Linked DNA regions of Homo sapiens: all the other regions are linked to region 3. Evidence: promoter capture Hi-C in 16 types of primary human blood cells and fetal thymus (Javierre and others, 2016). All regions are on one chromosome and are shown on one strand. Each heading gives the region's core, a stretch centred on a gene start or on the middle of the fragment in contact. The rest is flanking DNA. Distances are from core to core; before and after follow the strand shown.

The links. The method cuts DNA at HindIII sites, captures the fragments that hold promoters and counts their contacts. A CHiCAGO score of 5 or more calls a contact.
Region 1: a fragment that was not itself captured here is called in contact with the fragment with the promoter of MEGF9 in region 3 in 7 of 17 cell types (monocytes, activated CD4 T cells, naive CD8 T cells and 4 more); the score reaches 8.0 in monocytes.
Region 2: a contact is called between a fragment that was not itself captured here and the fragment with the promoter of MEGF9 in region 3, in 1 of 17 cell types (monocytes). The highest score is 5.4, in monocytes.
Region 4: a contact is called between a fragment that was not itself captured here and the fragment with the promoter of MEGF9 in region 3, in 4 of 17 cell types (monocytes, non-activated CD4 T cells, neutrophils and 1 more). The highest score is 8.4, in monocytes.
Region 5: a fragment that was not itself captured here is called in contact with the fragment with the promoter of MEGF9 in region 3 in 1 of 17 cell types (monocytes); the score reaches 7.0 in monocytes.

Annotation. Positions count from the first base shown.
Region 1 is chr9:120,954,421-120,957,457 of GRCh38, forward strand. It overlaps C5 (complement C5), which reads right to left. Exons shown (of 41, transcript NM_001735.3): 39 at 2,865-2,948. Among named protein-coding and RNA genes, the nearest start is that of C5-OT1, 3.1 kb to the left of the region's middle. The HindIII fragment of the contact is 2,191 bases long and covers 548-2,738 here.
Region 2 is chr9:120,854,025-120,857,155 of GRCh38, forward strand. PHF19 (PHD finger protein 19) reads right to left here. Exons shown (of 15, transcript NM_015651.3): 15 at 1,627-3,131. It also overlaps the pseudogene CUTALP. Among named protein-coding and RNA genes, the nearest start is that of PSMD5, 13 kb to the left of the region's middle. RefSeq lists enhancers at 1,711-2,212, 2,213-2,712. The HindIII fragment of the contact is 2,493 bases long and covers 508-3,000 here.
Region 3 is chr9:120,712,541-120,715,822 of GRCh38, forward strand. MEGF9 (multiple EGF like domains 9) reads right to left here and starts at 1,930. Exons shown (of 6, transcript NM_001080497.3): 1 at 1,218-1,930. The coding sequence starts at 1,818. RefSeq lists a silencer at 1,618-2,467. The HindIII fragment of the contact is 2,825 bases long and covers 1-2,665 here.
Region 4 is chr9:120,938,126-120,941,358 of GRCh38, forward strand. No RefSeq gene overlaps it. Among named protein-coding and RNA genes, the nearest start is that of TRAF1, 13 kb to the left of the region's middle. The HindIII fragment of the contact is 420 bases long and covers 1,504-1,923 here.
Region 5 is chr9:120,873,226-120,876,361 of GRCh38, forward strand. PHF19 (PHD finger protein 19) reads right to left here. Exons shown (of 15, transcript NM_015651.3): 2 at 1,331-1,531; 3 at 754-835. The coding sequence starts at 1,516. Among named protein-coding and RNA genes, the nearest start is that of PHF19, 2.4 kb to the right of the region's middle. RefSeq lists enhancers at 1-363, 364-989, 2,800-3,136 and a silencer at 2,983-3,136. The HindIII fragment of the contact is 4,096 bases long and covers 1-3,136 here.

The DNA.
Region 1 (3,037 bases), core at 393-2,892, 240 kb after region 3:
GCCAGTTCCCCTACCTGGAATGCATTCCTCCCCATGTTGGCCTCTTGAATTTCATTTATCTTGAAAGTCTCCTTCAATTCTCACAGTATCCAGTAAAATATTCCTGGATGCTCTTTGTTTTAAATATCTTTCTGTCTCCTCTTTACCTCTTTTACACTTGAATTTCTGTCACAATTTTTTGTCCCACATCTGTCCTTCTAGCTAGACTAGAAACTTCTTAAGGCATGGACTGTGTCTGATTTATCGCTATATATACAGGGCTGATATTTAACTATTAAGTTCTGGCAGAGTCATCTTAATTGTTAAGTCCTGAAAAACTTCTGAACCAATTGGCAAATAGTGTATAATAGAAACTGTGTAAATGGTAAACTTTCATTAGTGATATAAATTTCAGTGTACACCCATTAGTTCAAGCTGATTTCTTAGGCTGCCCTGATGGTGTAGATTCCTATTACGTCAATATCTGAGCAACATTACCAGTACTATCTGCCATTTCAGCCCCTGTCATAGTAAGCAGTGTAGCTGTGTGGGGCCTTATTATTTTTTAAGCTTCTCATCATGGAAAATTTAAAGTATATTCAGAAGAGAGAACAGGCAACTACCCTGGGCTTCAACAATAACTAAACTTTTATTCTTCTATATCCTTACCTATTCTAAGCACTCTGTGCTTTGGAGAAATACCAATTTATCCTTATCCTCAAACTACAGTTTGCCCTTGATTCTAAATGGCTTATGGTCACTGTGCCACAATTCTTCTGTAAGTAGTGTGTGGTATTTTTATATTTATAAAAATTCAAAATTTATGTGTTAAAAATGGGCCCAGAATGAGGAGATGAAGTATGCCAATGTTTCTTAACATTTCCTTTTAAATATCATAAAATGCATCTTTGGATCTACAGGAGAACAAAGAAGAAATGATACTAATAAAAAAATTGTAGCTTGGGAACCATCCGATGCTATGAAAAATTCAGAACAGTCTAAAATGTCTTTTGATACTATGCAAGAATCAGTATCAAATAAAACAAATAATTTGTATTTCTGGAATGAAAAGCACTTTGTTATTTCAGTAAAAAGAGAATGGCTTATTACTGCTTGTAATATGAACATTGGATGAAAATGTTGCTCAAAAGTTGGACTGTGGCAACATCAAAGTTCTAAACACTTATTTCATTAGAATGGCAACTAGCCTGCAAATTAAAAAATTGTGACCATCAATGAAGAAAAAAATAAAATAACTTCACAAATAAGTTTCATACAATGAAACTTTCAAAATAACAAAAATTTAAAAAAAATTATCAAAGTGTTGATAAAGCAAATACAAAATTGAAAAATATTACTAGAATTTTAAACTCTAGGGTATGGTTAGTAATAATCAAGCTGGGAGGCTGAGGAGAGAGGATCCCTTGAGCCTAGGAGTTTGAGACCAGCCTGAACAACATAGTGAGACCCCGTCTCAAAAGAAAAAAAATCAAGCATTTTAGGACTTGAAATATTTGATAGAATTTCAAAAGAGAAAAAAATTTAGTATAAACATATTATTGCAATTTAGCTTTATGGTCCTACTTATTGCAAAATTTATATCAATCGAAATGAGGCCAGGCACGGTGGCTCACACACGTAATCCCAGCATTTCAGGAGGCTGAGGCGAGTGGATCACTTGAGCCTAGGAGTTCAGGACCAGCCTGGCCAACATGTAAGACCCCATCTCCGCTAAGATACAAAAATAAGTCAGGCGTGGTGGTGCATGTCTGTAATCCCAGCTACTCAGGAGGCTGAGGCAGGAGAATCACTTGAACCTGGGAAACAGAGTTTGCAGTGAGCCAAGATCGTGCCACTGCGCTCCAGCCTGGGTGACAGAGTGAAACGTCATTTCAAAAAAAAAAATGTAATCCCATTCACAATAGCCACACACACACAAAAATGCCTAGGAATACAGCTAACTAGGGAGGTGAATGATCTCTACAATGAGAATTACAAAACACTGCTCAAAGAAATCAGAGATGACACAAACAAATGGAAAAACATTCCACGCTCATGGATAGGAAGAATTAATATTGTTAAAATGGCCATACTGTCCAAAGCAATTTACAGATTTAATGCTATTCCTATCATTTTTCATAAAATTAGAAAAAAACATTTTAATATTCATATGGAACAAAGAAAGAACTTGAATAGCCAAAGGAATTCTAAGCAAAAAGAACAAAGCTAGATGCCTCCTACTACCTGATTTCAAACTATATTACAAGGCTACAGTAACCAAAGCAACATGTTACTGATACAAAAAAAGACACGTAGACCAATGGAACAGGTTACAGCACCCAGAAATAAAGCCACTATCCTAAGTGAATTAACACAGTAACAGAAAACCAAATATCACATATTTTCACTTATAAGTGGGAACTAAACAGTGAGTACACATGGACACAAAGAAGGGAACACTAGACAGCAGAGCCTACTTGAGGGTAGAGGGTGAGGATTGAAAAATTACCTATTGGGTACTATGCTTATTACCTGGGTGACAAAATGATCTATATACCAAACCCCCAAAACATGCAATTTACCCATGTAGCAAATTTGCACACGTATCCCCTGAACCTAAAATAAAAGTTGTAAAGAAAAAGAAATTGGACAATTACGCAATTGAAAAAAACATTTTGCTGAAGTTTTAGAAAAATGAATTCAATGAGAAATATTTATACGAACATCTTTAAAAAATGTTTCTCCCCAAGTAGAATATAAGCTTTAAAAAGGCAAGAGCTCTGTCTTATTTGAGTTGTATCTTCTGTGTTTAATATAATGCCTGGCACATAGTCAGTACTAAATAGTTGCTGAATGAAGGAACGAATGAACGAATGAATTCTCACCAGTTTTGTAGATATCCAGAAGGGTTGCCTTGTACTTGACAAAAACATTTTCTACAGTGATGGATGTGATGCTAACTTTATAAGCTGGCAAAAGACAAACAACAATGAAACAATTCAGTCTTAATACTATTAATGCTATGTCCAGTAGAAGCCAGAATTTGTCAAACACGAGA
Region 2 (3,131 bases), core at 504-3,003, 140 kb after region 3:
CATAATCCCTAGAAAAATCAGTTGAGGAAATGAGAAGTATTGTAATTATTCTGTGAATAGTAACACTTACCATTATGGAGACATCACTAGTTTGAAAGAATCCAACTTCATCAAATATTAACGTACCGAGTTGAAGGCTACAAGAACTGAGACAGGAGCATAGCAGAGAGAAACGGTCACCATCTCATTAGCCCTATTTTTGGTTGTTGTGATGCCATTACATCTGTATATCTGGCCATATCAGCTGCTAATGGTGAGTTCTTGCAAACAAAATGATTTGATAAACAACCTACCATACTTTATACAAATCTTATGGTGTTCCGAGAAATAAACTTTGGAAGCAAAATAAGTTAACAGTCTGGACACGATTGATTCTATATTCTGTTTACCTTGCTCTAGGCTATTCAAATGTTATATTTATTTGAACACTATCCAATATATGTTCCCTGGCATCTTCCTGTCTTTTAAATATTCTCTGTACGCTACAGTTCTTTGTAAGTAAAAATAAGCTTAATATGTCTACTTAGCAAACAAAGTTTTTCCAGATACCTATAATAATGAGGAAAACAGTATAAAGAATGAAGTATTTGAAGAATAACTTATAATTTGGGGGATTTCTGAGAATTCTACTTCTTTGTCCCTAATTTCCGAAGGTAAATGTTTGTTGTGAATTTGGAAACACTAGACTACAGAAAAGCAGGCACTCTCTAGCCTGGGAGGCCCACTGATCTTAGGAGGGTCCATATAGCTGCTTATTGCAGACCTTGCACTAGAACCCAGGTCTTTTGACACCTGGTGCCACTTTTCATTCCATTCCATTAATTATAGCCCAGAGAATAACCACCACCACCCCCAAGTCCCATTGTGGTTTTATTCTGAGGACAGATAAAAGGTTGAAGCTGATGGAGTGGTAGAAAGAAGTGGGAGCCATAGTGAATGAAGACGTTTAAGGGCAGATATTAACACCACTGAGTCCTTCATTCGGGATTACAGGTTACACTTTACCCCTCAAACTGTAGAATTCAGTGGAATCCATGGCCTTTACCTCTCTATAGATGACCTTTTTCCTACCCCTTTACATCTCCTGTTTTTTTCCTCTCCAAACTGCCCTAAATTTAGAGGTTTATTTTGAAGTAATAATCAGTCACACACAGCAAAGTCTCTCCCAACACATGGGGAGCAGATGTGCTGGGATTATCACTGCCATTTGAAGGGTGATAAAACTGAAGGAAAGGAATCTGACTAAAGTGGCACAGGTTAGAACTAGCAGAGTCAGGTCTAGAACTCATTTCATATTTCTAGAATTGTGTGATGATGTACTGATAAAGTTTTACGATGCCCGGATCTAAGTATTATAATAGTGTCAATTTCTAAGTTCATTTTCCATCTTTTACCTCTCAGTGGCACTCAACTAATGTTTTTTGCCCCCAAAGGTCGGGTACTCACAAAAGATTCCATATTCTCTCTGGCAGTAAGGGTGAGAATGTTGCTGGCAGTGGTAGGAGTGGCAAGGTGGCCAGAGGACAGGGTCCTGCCATTCCTCCTCAGCCTCCAGTAAACCAAGTGCAAAAGCCAGAGCCAATTCCTTCTGCCACCCAGCAGCTAATTCACTATAGGGAAGACAAGTGATTGTTCAAAGGGAGGTTTTAAATCATAAATCAGACACATTAATTATAACTTTAACAAATGTTATTAAAAGCAGCAATTAAAAACCATGAATCTTTTTGAAGGTGCAGAGGGTTATAAGGTCAGTTGGCAGTAATGCAGCTATTATCTGGTATGAATGAAATGCTGGGGTGGGGAGTCAGGGTGACCTCATTAGGCCTTGTGCTATCTTCCCAGGTGGTGCAGACACCCCCTCCCTCCTTTTCCCTCTCCAGGCCCACAGCCTCCCCAGAGCCCAGGTAGGGAAGGTCCAGATGTACTATAACAGGATTGCTCATCCCAGGCTATCTCAGAAGTCTGGAAAGCAGGCCTAGAAGGTTGCTGGGCTCTCTGAAGCCAGGCAGGAAGCTACAAATTGGATCCCAGTTCCCACAGCACCCCTGGGCTAGGGGTTGGCTTCTCAGCTCCCCTTCCACCTGGCCCTAGTTGGCCCCTGTGGCAGCAGCTGTGGGGCTGAAAAGGGGGAAGAACTGGGTCCAACGCCAGCTCGTCTATGCCTGGGCTGTGCCAGGGAAGCAGAGGAAAGTGGGTGGGCTGTGCACAGGAGGTGAGGTCCCCCTTAAAAGGCACTGTGGGAGCTGAGGTCTAAGATGGGGGGGCATCTAAACTATCTCAGGGACCCCCTGAACGCTCACAGGTAGAGAGGGGTCAGGCCTAGCAATGGAAAAACAGCTCCTGCAGGCCTGCTGCCCCGCCAGTGCCTCTTGCTGTACTACCACCTTCGCCTTCCTGCTGGCGGCCTGCAAAACCAGCCAAGCTGGAGGCCACAGCAGCAGTTGGCAAGGCTGGTCCCCATCTGGTGCCCACCCTCCACGTCAAGGCACTTTTGTCCATTTTCCAATCAAGTGAGTCAGTTTCTAATATCTCTGGAAGCAGCAAAACATCAGGGGTCCTCTTCCCCCTCCCAATTTTGGTTTCCCTCCAGATGAGGCAGAATTTGAATGTTGGTTCCAAAAATTCTCTTTCAAACCCCCACTGGCAAGGGCTTCCCTTTGAGGGAACCAAATGATGCAGGCTCTTTAAAAATTTCAACCTATCCCAAAAAGTGATTGTCCATTTCAGGGCAGGGCAAGGGATATGAAAGAGGGTGAGTCCCCTGTGCTTCCCTATGGGACCAATGCTGGTTGATGGGCTGAAAGAAGGAGCGGCCACTGAGCTTTCACATTTAGTTGCAGCACCTGGGCCCTGGAAGTGGGCCAAGGGAAAGCCAAGGGAGGAGCCAGCAGGCCCAGAGGGACGGTGTGGCTCTGTGTGTGTACACTTGGGCATGTGGTGGTGTGGCCGTGTGGGGTTGTCTGCATGCCTAGAGCTGAAAGTACAACACATGTGGATGGAAGCTTGTGCGAGTGGGTGTGTATTGTCTGCTGTGTGGTGTCTGGTGGGTCTGGGGATGGGAGGCACCAGAAACAGGTTTAGCAAGACATGGTTTCCCTCCCACCACTACCACCCCCCACCCCCGTCCCCCA
Region 3 (3,282 bases), core at 680-3,179:
ATTCCTTGAAGCTGGAAGAGATGCACACTTGGCTTTTTATGGGTGAATAATCCTACTTATGTCATTGCCAAGCTCCAACCCAAGGATCAAGACTGTATTAAGGTTCATAACCATGTGGGAAAATTCTCTACACACTCAATTATAGTCCAAAGTCCATACCTGACTCCACAGTAAATCACTAAGCCTAAGATTTAGGTCAGAGACCCAGCTAGACAAAGGATTTGGACAAACCTCCACCCCAACTCAAAGCAAGACAATTCAGAAACTTTTGTCCAAACGTTCTGACAAAGTAGGCTTTTGTTTTGTTTTGTTTTAGTCCTAGGCCCACTTAAGATTTAAACGGGGAAAGAATACGAGTTGTCTTTAACTTTGCTTGAAGACTTCAGCAAGAAAAGCCTTTTCTACGTGGGCTCAAACAGAAATTGGCATATATCAGCATCAGCAAAGTTGAACATCCTGGCTTAAGGAGACAAAAATAGGCATCCTTGCTTAAATGGTGTATTTGGCCAAACATGTTGACCTTATAATTGTGGAAGAAAAAAATGGTGCGAGGAAGAGATTTAACCTAATTTGTAAATGTGCTCAGCCTAGATACACACCTGTCCCAAATGACCTACTGAATCCACTTATTTGCAGGGACAACATGGATTACAATGCCTTTTTTGTTTTTATTTTTTGCCCTCAAGTGGTCCATACTACTGTTTGTAAACAAAATCCTCTCACTACCTCTCTTCCACCTGTCATACACACACATCTGATATTTACATAAACAAGAAGAAATGAACAGGGAAACTGGAGCTTTGGGAGGAATTCCTTACCCTCAGCTTTTGACCCAGTGGTTGAAGGAGGTACTATGCGGGCTTTCAAACTTCCCCAAATAACCCAGGCAGAGAGGCTGGGTGCGCGAACCCAACCCAAAAGTTTGCGCCCATTCTGGTCTCTGAAAAAGGCCAGAAAGCCCTGTTGGGAAGAAGATGAGATGCCTTCCACCCAGCAGCCACCCCCTCCCGAGGGAGCACAGCCCACGGGGGACAAAAGACTTTCCAGATTGATCGGGGGCGGGAGGGAGACTAGCTGGACCTGGGATCCCCCCTCGGGAGCCGGAACCTGGGGTGTCTTTGGGGTAACAAACGATAAATTATAGGCAAGAGCCCAACCCTAGATTGCCGGGGCTGAGGTGAGGACGGGTCCTGCCCGAGAGGGAGCGCCGGACTCACCTGGAGGAGGCGAAGAGGGGGCCTCGGTGGCAGGTGGGGTGGGGAGGACGCTGCTGTTGCTGCTGCTGGGGAGATCGGGGGTCGGGGTCCGGGGAGTCGTGGGCGCCGGTACGGTGGTCGCTACAGGGGTGGTCGGCGCCGGGCCAGTGGTCGTCGAAAGGGTGGTCGGCGCGGGTCTGGTCGGCGCCTGAGAGGTGGTCGAAGTGCGTTCCGCCGCCGGAGGGGTGGTCGGCGAGGGGCCGAGCGGCGCCTGAAAGGTGGTGGAAGAGGGTCCAGCAGTCGCCCAAAGAGGGGTGGTCTCCGGGGACTGGGCTGGAGAAGTCGCAGCCAGGGGTCGGTGGACGGTGGCGCGCGGGGGCCCGGTCCTCGGGGCCTGGGCCGTGGGAGCCGTCGCCCTAGGGAAGGGGTGGCTGGGCTCGCCCCGCAACCCGGGGCCCGGCGACGCGTCCACCTGCCCCGCGGCCCCGCCGCCACCGGTGACATTCCCCGCCGAGGCGGCTGAGGCGACGGCGGCGGCGGCGGCGGCGGCGGCGCAGCACAACAGGGCGAGGCCGCCCAGGCTCGGCAGGCTCCTCATGGCGCGCTCGGCTCCGCCATTCATTCATTCAGCCAGTCGGTTGGTCAGTCATCTTCTCCTCGTTGCAATCCGACCAAGGAAGCCTCCGCAACCGCCGCCGCCACCGCCACCGGGCGCACCATCGCCACCTCCCTCTGACAGGCGGCCGGCCCCGCGGGCGGGCCCCAGCGCGGAGGGAGCGACCGGACCGAGCGCGGACCGCCCGCCCTCCTCGATTGGCAGCCGCGCCTAACCAATGGGAAGCCACAGTCGCCCACGTGATCCGCCCGCTTCCCGGCCTCTTTGTAGCCCCGTAGGCCAATCAGAGGACGTCCAGGAGAGGGGGCGGTCCGTGAGGCGGGAGAAGGGTGGTGCGAGCCCAGCTCTAGCCCGCCGGGCTCGCGGCGGCCCCGGCTTTGTCTGCCCAAAGAGTGGGGCGCGGGCCTCGGGCACCGGGCGCCGCGGAGCAGACAAAGGATGCGCCCCGCGCGGCAGACGCCGGGCCTAGTCATCTGCTCCACCGGGCTGCGAGCACGAGCGGGGGGTGGAATCAGCACTCGGGAGCATCCCCGCCCTCCTGAACAATGGGGCGCCAGCGCCGCACCCCAGCTCGGGCGGGGACCGCGCGGGAACCCCGCGATGGGAGAGGGCAGCGGCAGCGACGATGTAGAGCTTGGCATGCCCTCTGCTGCTCCAGAGAGCCTGGTCGCAGCCTTGCGAGGTCTCTGCCGCCATTCCCATTTCAGAGATGGGGAAGCTGAGGCCCTTGCTGAGGGCCTCCCTGAACCGAGACCCACGCCCTCACCAGAAACCTGCTGTGGGCCAGGTGTTGTGCCAGACTGGACAAGGGGGCGGGACCGGGCGGTGGAGACCCCTGAGGGCAGAAGGTGCAAGCTTCCTGCGTGGAGGAGACAGGCTCGCAAGCACACTTACCTAAACCCCGGGAAGAATAGGATCAGACAGGGTTGAACCTCAACTTGATGTCTTTTGCTGAATGGTTTTGTGGCCTGAGCGCGGTTTTTTCACCACTAAAATGGAGATGATAGGACACCCCTCACCCCCCACCCCCCTCACAGAGCTGTTGTGAGAATTAAGTCATGGACGTAAAGGGCTTAGCCCAGAGCCTGGCCCACTGTTGTAACCCTCATTAATGCTAACTATTCTCAGCATTTGCGCCAGGGCAAGCCCAGGATTAGAAAGCAGCCCCAGGCCACAGCCCTTCAGTGCCCCCAGAGCCTCCGGCTGGTTGCAGGGGTTGGGGTGGGGCTAATAGCCGAGCTTGACCCTGGATGACACTAAACCCTGAATCAAGCTGGAATTCGGGCACGCAGCCTCGCATCATCCGCCCAGGATCCAGAGCTAGGTCAGGCGCTGCTGCTTCGGCTCAGCAGCTTCCAGAGGAAGCCAGGCAGGGCGGGTTTGTCATCTGATGGGGCTTAATTCAAGCCCCACTGCTAACCCAATCCCGGCCTCCCCTACGTGATGTTTGGCTTTGTGCATGGTTTCCCA
Region 4 (3,233 bases), core at 464-2,963, 230 kb after region 3:
GTGTGTGTGTGTGTGTGTGTGTGTGTGTGTGTGTGTATGCATGCACATAATAATGTCAATGGTAGTTTGAGAAGGGGAAACATGGTGAGCTTTGTCTCATGATAGCATATACCAGCCACCCAAGAAATCTTAACAATGAGATATGGGCACCATTTTAGACAAACAAGACAAAGGAGAGGTGGCTCTGCTCAGATCAGCCTCAATTCCTAAAGTTGGTGTGGGCAAAGAACGCTGTTCCCATGGACTAGAAGCAGGCCATGCACAAGGAAGCTGATGTGAAAGGCCTCTTAGTTTTGTCCAGTGGGGGAGGGTGACAAACTGAACACATTGCTGGATTCCTACGGCGGCAGAAGGAGTGAACGATGGGATACAGTGTGGTGCAATGAACGTGGAATGGTGAAAGGTCTTTAGAGACTGGGGGAGTGGCCCAGCACAGTGGCTCACACTTGTAATCCCAGCACTTTGGGAGGCCAAAACGGGTGGATCACTTGAGGTCAGGAGTTCAAGATCAGCCTGGCCAACATGGTGAAACCCCATCTCTACTAAAAATACAAAAATTATCCTGGCATGGTGGTGCACGCCTGTAATCCCAGCTACTCAGGATGCTGAGGCATAAGAATCACTTGAACCTGGGAGGTGAAGGTTGCAGTGAGCCAAGATCATGCCATTGCACTCTAGCCTGGGTGACAGAGCAAGACTTCTTCTCAAAAATAAAAAGAGAGAGAGAGATTGGGGGAGTGTCTAAAAAGCCCATGGACATGCCCATGAAAGAGTCCGAGTCTGCTTTAAAGCCCTTGAAAGCCATCTTATGGCAGTACTGGTCAAGTAAGCTCTTCTGCTCCCCTTTCTTCTACCTTTCCTCCCTACCAATCCCTCTAGTGCTGGAGAGGTCAGAAGTCACAGCTTGCACAGCAATGTGAATATACTCAACACTACTGAACTGTGCACTTGGGAGTAGTTAAGATGGTAAATCTTATGTTACGCATTTTAAATTTATTACAATCTTAAAGAAAGAAGCAGCCACACTAAACAGCCTTAGTAAGCTGAGAAGGAAACTCCAGGGAAAGAAGCAGCTGCCCGTGACACTATTCCCAGCTATAGGGGTCCCAAACCTGCAGCAAGCCCTGTTTGGGAGAGAAGATTGTATTTTAAATCAAGTTGAGAATTTTGCTTTTGTATGGGACTGAACATCAAATTTATGAATAGAGTTGTTTGGTGACTGAAGTGATCATAGGACTTTTTAGTTCCTAAGAGTGATCACAACAGTCATAAGATGCTTGAGTTTTCCTTAAAGGATAGAGAAAGGATATCTCTCCCTTCCCTTTGAATAAATCTTTATAGGGAGCTGGAAGGCAAAACAAAGTTGACTTATGAGTATGCACAGGGAGTCCTACTTACTTAATTTAGCAATTATATTTGCTTTTGTAAAATGGGATCTCTCCTTCCATTATATTTTTCTAATTGGTGTTGTTTGCCTCTATCACATCTTCCAAAGCAACTAAAAGCTTGGGCTTACCTCAGATAAAGGCACTTAACCATTACCTGAAAGATCAGCTGTGCTTCAGGCTTTAAACCCTTAATTGCTCGGTATTCTCATGTTCACAGGTTGAGGGACTCAGTATTAACGTGCCTTTGTTGCAAGTTCTTGTAAACAAAGACAGTAAAATTATGGTTCTGATGTTCTATTAATTGTCATTAATTTATACCTACCAAGTGTCAGGTCTTGTGCTTAGGATACAGAGAAGAACAAGATACAGCCCCTGTCCGCCAGGAGCTCACAGTGGGATAGAAGGCCATGATAAGAAATCAATGAGAAGGCTGTGGGTGGCAGGAGCTCCAGCACAGATGTGTTTCCAGAGAAGGACTTACAGGGGCTTGTCCTGAGTGTACCCTTGATGCTGGCACTATGTCTGGCCCATGATAAGCTTCCTGTCCCAGGCCATGTGCTTCCAGGAAGTTATCCTTGCTTAATTCTATGTCTACTCCGATTACTTCTTTACTTTATCATCTCAGCACTTTGCAATTCAGCCTTGTGTTCATTTACCCTGGTGCTGCAAATACAGGGAACACACATAATGCACAGGATACTGACATGCTGTGTATCTCAGGGCACTCAGAAGAGCTGAAGCTATGATTTGAATCCATAAAGTTTGACATCTGCTTCCCATTCGTAGGCAGTTATTACAAAGTGGCAATCACTGCCTTTGTGATGATCATAAGCATTTTTCATGCTCCTACCTAGTCTTTAAAATGATTCTTTTTAGAGGCTGCATAATATTTCATGGAATATGCATTCTGTCATTTACATGTAATTATGAGTAATAATTACAATTTCCCCCTTTCGAACTATTAATTTATATGTCAGGTTTTTTATATCACACAAAGTACTTCAATAAATTACAGTGGTATTGCTTTATATACCATAATTCTAGATTCATAGTAATTCTAGGCTAATTCCTACTTGATATCTCCACAAGAATGTCTAAAAGGCTTCTTAAACATAACAAAGCCCTGACAGAAATCCTTCTTCTCTTCTGTATTTGCTTGTGAGCACTGGGTAACAAAGTGCCACAAACTGGGTGGCTTGAAACAACAGAGATGTATTCTCACACGGGGCTGGAGGTTAGAAGTCTGAAAGCAGTTTCGGCAGGGTTGGTTTCTTCTGGCCGGCTCTGAGGGCGGACCCGTCCCGTGCCTCTCTCCTGGCTTCAGGTGACAGCAGTGGTTCTTTGCCTTCCTTGGTTTGTACATGCATTACTCCAATTTCTACCTCTGTCTGCATGCGACCGTCCTCTCCCAGTGTCTGCATCTTCACGTGAGGTTTTCTCTGCGTATCCCTGTGTCTACATTTCCCTCTTCTCATAAGGACACCTGTCATTTTAGATTAAGAGCCACCCTATTCCAGTGTGACTTCATCTTACCTTAGCTAATTACACATGCAACAAACTTATTTCCAAATCAGGTCCTACTCTGAGGTACTGTAGATTTGAATTTCAACATATCTTTTTGAGTGACGTAGTGTTCAACCCATAACATCTTCTTTCCTTGTTTTCCTAAATGTGTACCTTCTCCTGTCTTCTCCAGCTGTGTAAATGGCATCTGCAGCAGTGCAAGCCAGGAATCCGTGAGTAATCCTTGACTCCTCTGCATTCATTACCCCACCCTGATTCCTTCAGCAAATCCTCTCAGCACCACTTCCAAAACTATCCTGAATTCATCCCTGTCTCTTCATC
Region 5 (3,136 bases), core at 166-2,665, 160 kb after region 3:
CAACTCTGATTGACAGGCAGTAGCTGCTTGGGGCTCCAAGTTGAAAGTACATGTGTTGTCAATGGCTACTGATGTCTGTTGTGTGTATGGGAAGGGAGAATGGTGGCAAAGATGGCCCTGACTTGCCATCTCTGCAAGGGAGAGATGTCAGCTTTCTGAAGGCAGGGATGATACCCAACCCAGATTCATTTCAGCCCTAAAAGCTGGTCTAGCTCCATCCAGGCATGTCCATCTTCACCCTGCCTGGCTCACCTCTGCTTTATTGGTTTTTCTCCCATTCCTCCCAACTCCTTGCCCCGTGGAGAAGGCTGCTTCCATTAGTTTTATTCATATGTTAAATCAGGGACACTGTGCTTGCATCTAGAGCTGACAATTCTGAATACCTGGGCACGCCCCCTTTTCTAGCCCAGACTGACGCAGAGCTTTGAGCAGCTGCAGCTGTAGTGCAGCCAGGAAGCAAACGCAGGCCTGAGGCCCAGTCCTGGCCCTCCCAGCACCTCCCTAAGCTACCTTCCCCACCTGCCCATCCTCCCTCCTGGGGTATGAATTCTCAAGGGGATGACTCATGTCCTAAGTACCTTCCTAAGTCAATATACAACCAGATTTGATCATCATCACAGGTGGGCTTGGGGTTCATGGTCAAGGGCAGATGCCAGGAGTAAGAGATGGAAGGACAGAAGGAAGAAATGAAGGCAGCAGAGGAGAGAAGACCTGGGGAGGTTGGGGGCTACCCGAAATGTTAGGAAAACTCACCATGCTGTATGTCCTTCCATAGGACCCAGTATTTGGAATTATCTTCGAAAGTCACGAGGCAGCTTTGCTTAGAGCTGCTGACCTGGGGTACAGATAGGAAGGAGCAAGTGAGAAAGGGCTGGGGAAAAGCCAACCTGGAACATAGTCTTCCTCCCCCATTTTTGTCTCCGTATGTTCCAGAAAGCAGGGCTAGAAGGGGAAGAAGGATGGCAGTTCCTGGACAGGGTGTACTCCTAGTCACCTGGAGTCGTACAGCCAGGGACCGATGGATGGCAACTTGGTCAGAATGTTGAGGACAGAAGCACAAGTCAGATGCTCCTCTGTGATCCTCTCAAACCTGACTTTTTTGTTTTGTAGGCTCTCAGAGCACTTTTCTAAAGAACTAGTTGGATGATGTTGACCCTAGGGATGGTGCCTGCAAGACCAGGCTCTGGCCCCTCCCACCACCAGCTTTGGGCATGAGGGACAAGAAGGGAATTCTCCAGCAATCCCCCTGCCCCCTGGTCTGACAGCCAGGCTGGAACATGAGCAGAGAGATTCTGAGTCTGAGAACAGGGGCCAGAGAGGATGGGTTTACCCTCTTGATCTTCCCGAGGTAGTACAGGCCATCTGTCCACCGGCACAGCACATACTGGCCCTCCGTCAGTTTGGACATCAAGTCTTTGAAGTTGTTCTTGACCTTCGCCAGGGCCCCCTTGTTGGGGAGGTGGCTGGTGGCACCATAGGAGTCCCGAGTCCCTGGATCCAGAGCTCGATTCTCCATCAGCTTCCCCTGACACTGGGAGAGAAAGAACAGGGTTTTTGCTTCTTGCTTCCCTGCTTCAGAAAGCCCATCAGGGGAAGGAAGGAAACCACCATTTCTGTACCCTGTGCTATAAGCCAGACTTGGTTATTATCTCACTGATTCCTCGTGACCATCCTATGAGGGAGACATTATTATTATTCACATCTTACAGATAGGGAAACAGGTGTGGCAAGGAGAAGAGGCTGATGGGCCAAAGGCAGAGCCATGGCCCATACCACACTACCTTTTAAAGAGAATGGATCTCTCAACCCACACAGAACAAAGTCCCCTACCCAGCGGGCCTGAACCACTCCCTGTCTCAGGAGGCTGAGGTTTTATTCCTTAAGCAAACACAGTCCATGTGCTCTGGATGGAGGATCTTCTCCAGGCAAGCAGTTGGGTTTTGTTTTTACCCCCAACCCCTGCAACCATCCCTAACCTGAGATCTGTCCAGAGAAAATTCACCTAGAAAGGAAAACTGGGTGGCTTGTAGCTAGTGTAGACTGGGTCATCTGTCTTTTGTAATCCCCCCTTCTGTTCTCAATTATGAGATGATTTAATGGAAACCAATTCTGGGACATTTAAACCCACTTATGCTTTCACCCAGATACACATTTGCTCCAAGCAGTGAAGTCATCCATCCCCATGCCAGCCTCTCCACGCCTGTCTCTCACCATCCTATTCAACGTGCAGTTCACCCATCGATTTCTCTCTCCCTGCCTGTGGTACTGCCTTCATGCATCTCAAACTCCTCCAAGCAATTAGTTGCCACAGCCGGCCCATTTTAAGTGCCATGATTTCTGGCTTTCCAGCTCTAGCTTCCATCCTCCTGCCCTGGTCTCAGTTCAGGCCTCATCTTTTGCTTGGGCCATTCATTCATTCATTCATTCACCCAATAACAGTTTCCTGGGCCTTGTGCTTACCTCCACTAGGCACCTAGGGTGGGGAACGGTACTACCAGCACCCAGTGCTAAACAGGCCGTTCCTGCATTCCTGCCTCTCCACCAGACTCTTCCGCAGGGCCACCAATTTCCTTCCAGAAACTTTCTGGGGCTCCCCACTGCCCTCACTGGTGCTCAAAGCCGTCCCTAACGCCCCCTCCTTTCTGCTGGGCTCACCTGGCTCCAAGTCCCTCCACATGCTCTCCACTACAGCCACACACAGCCTCTCTCTTTCCCCGCGGGCCTACTCGGGTCTCCTCCTTGTGGCCATGGCGCTGGGCACCTGGTGTTGTGACTATCTGTTCACAGGGAGAGAGTCCAGTGCCTGTTTCTGTGTGGTGCGTGTGTGTACTCCTGTGAGACTGGGCAGGATGATGTCTACGGCATTGTGCCAGGGAGTGTGTGAAGCTAAGTATGTGCGGGGCCCTGGGGCGAGCCAGGCACTGCAGGGGTCTCGGCTCCCCAGATGGTGGCGTGGCCACGACCTTCTCCACCCCCACTCCCATCTCCTTTTTCTCCAGCGCAGAGCGCACAGGCTCCCGGGCAGGGGATGCGGTCTGAATCCCTGTCCTCTCCCTGCCACCTGGCTCGCCCGGCGCTGCGAGGTCCCCGCCCGCCCGGCCAGGGGCCAGGCCGGGGCCGCTGCAGGTTCACAAAC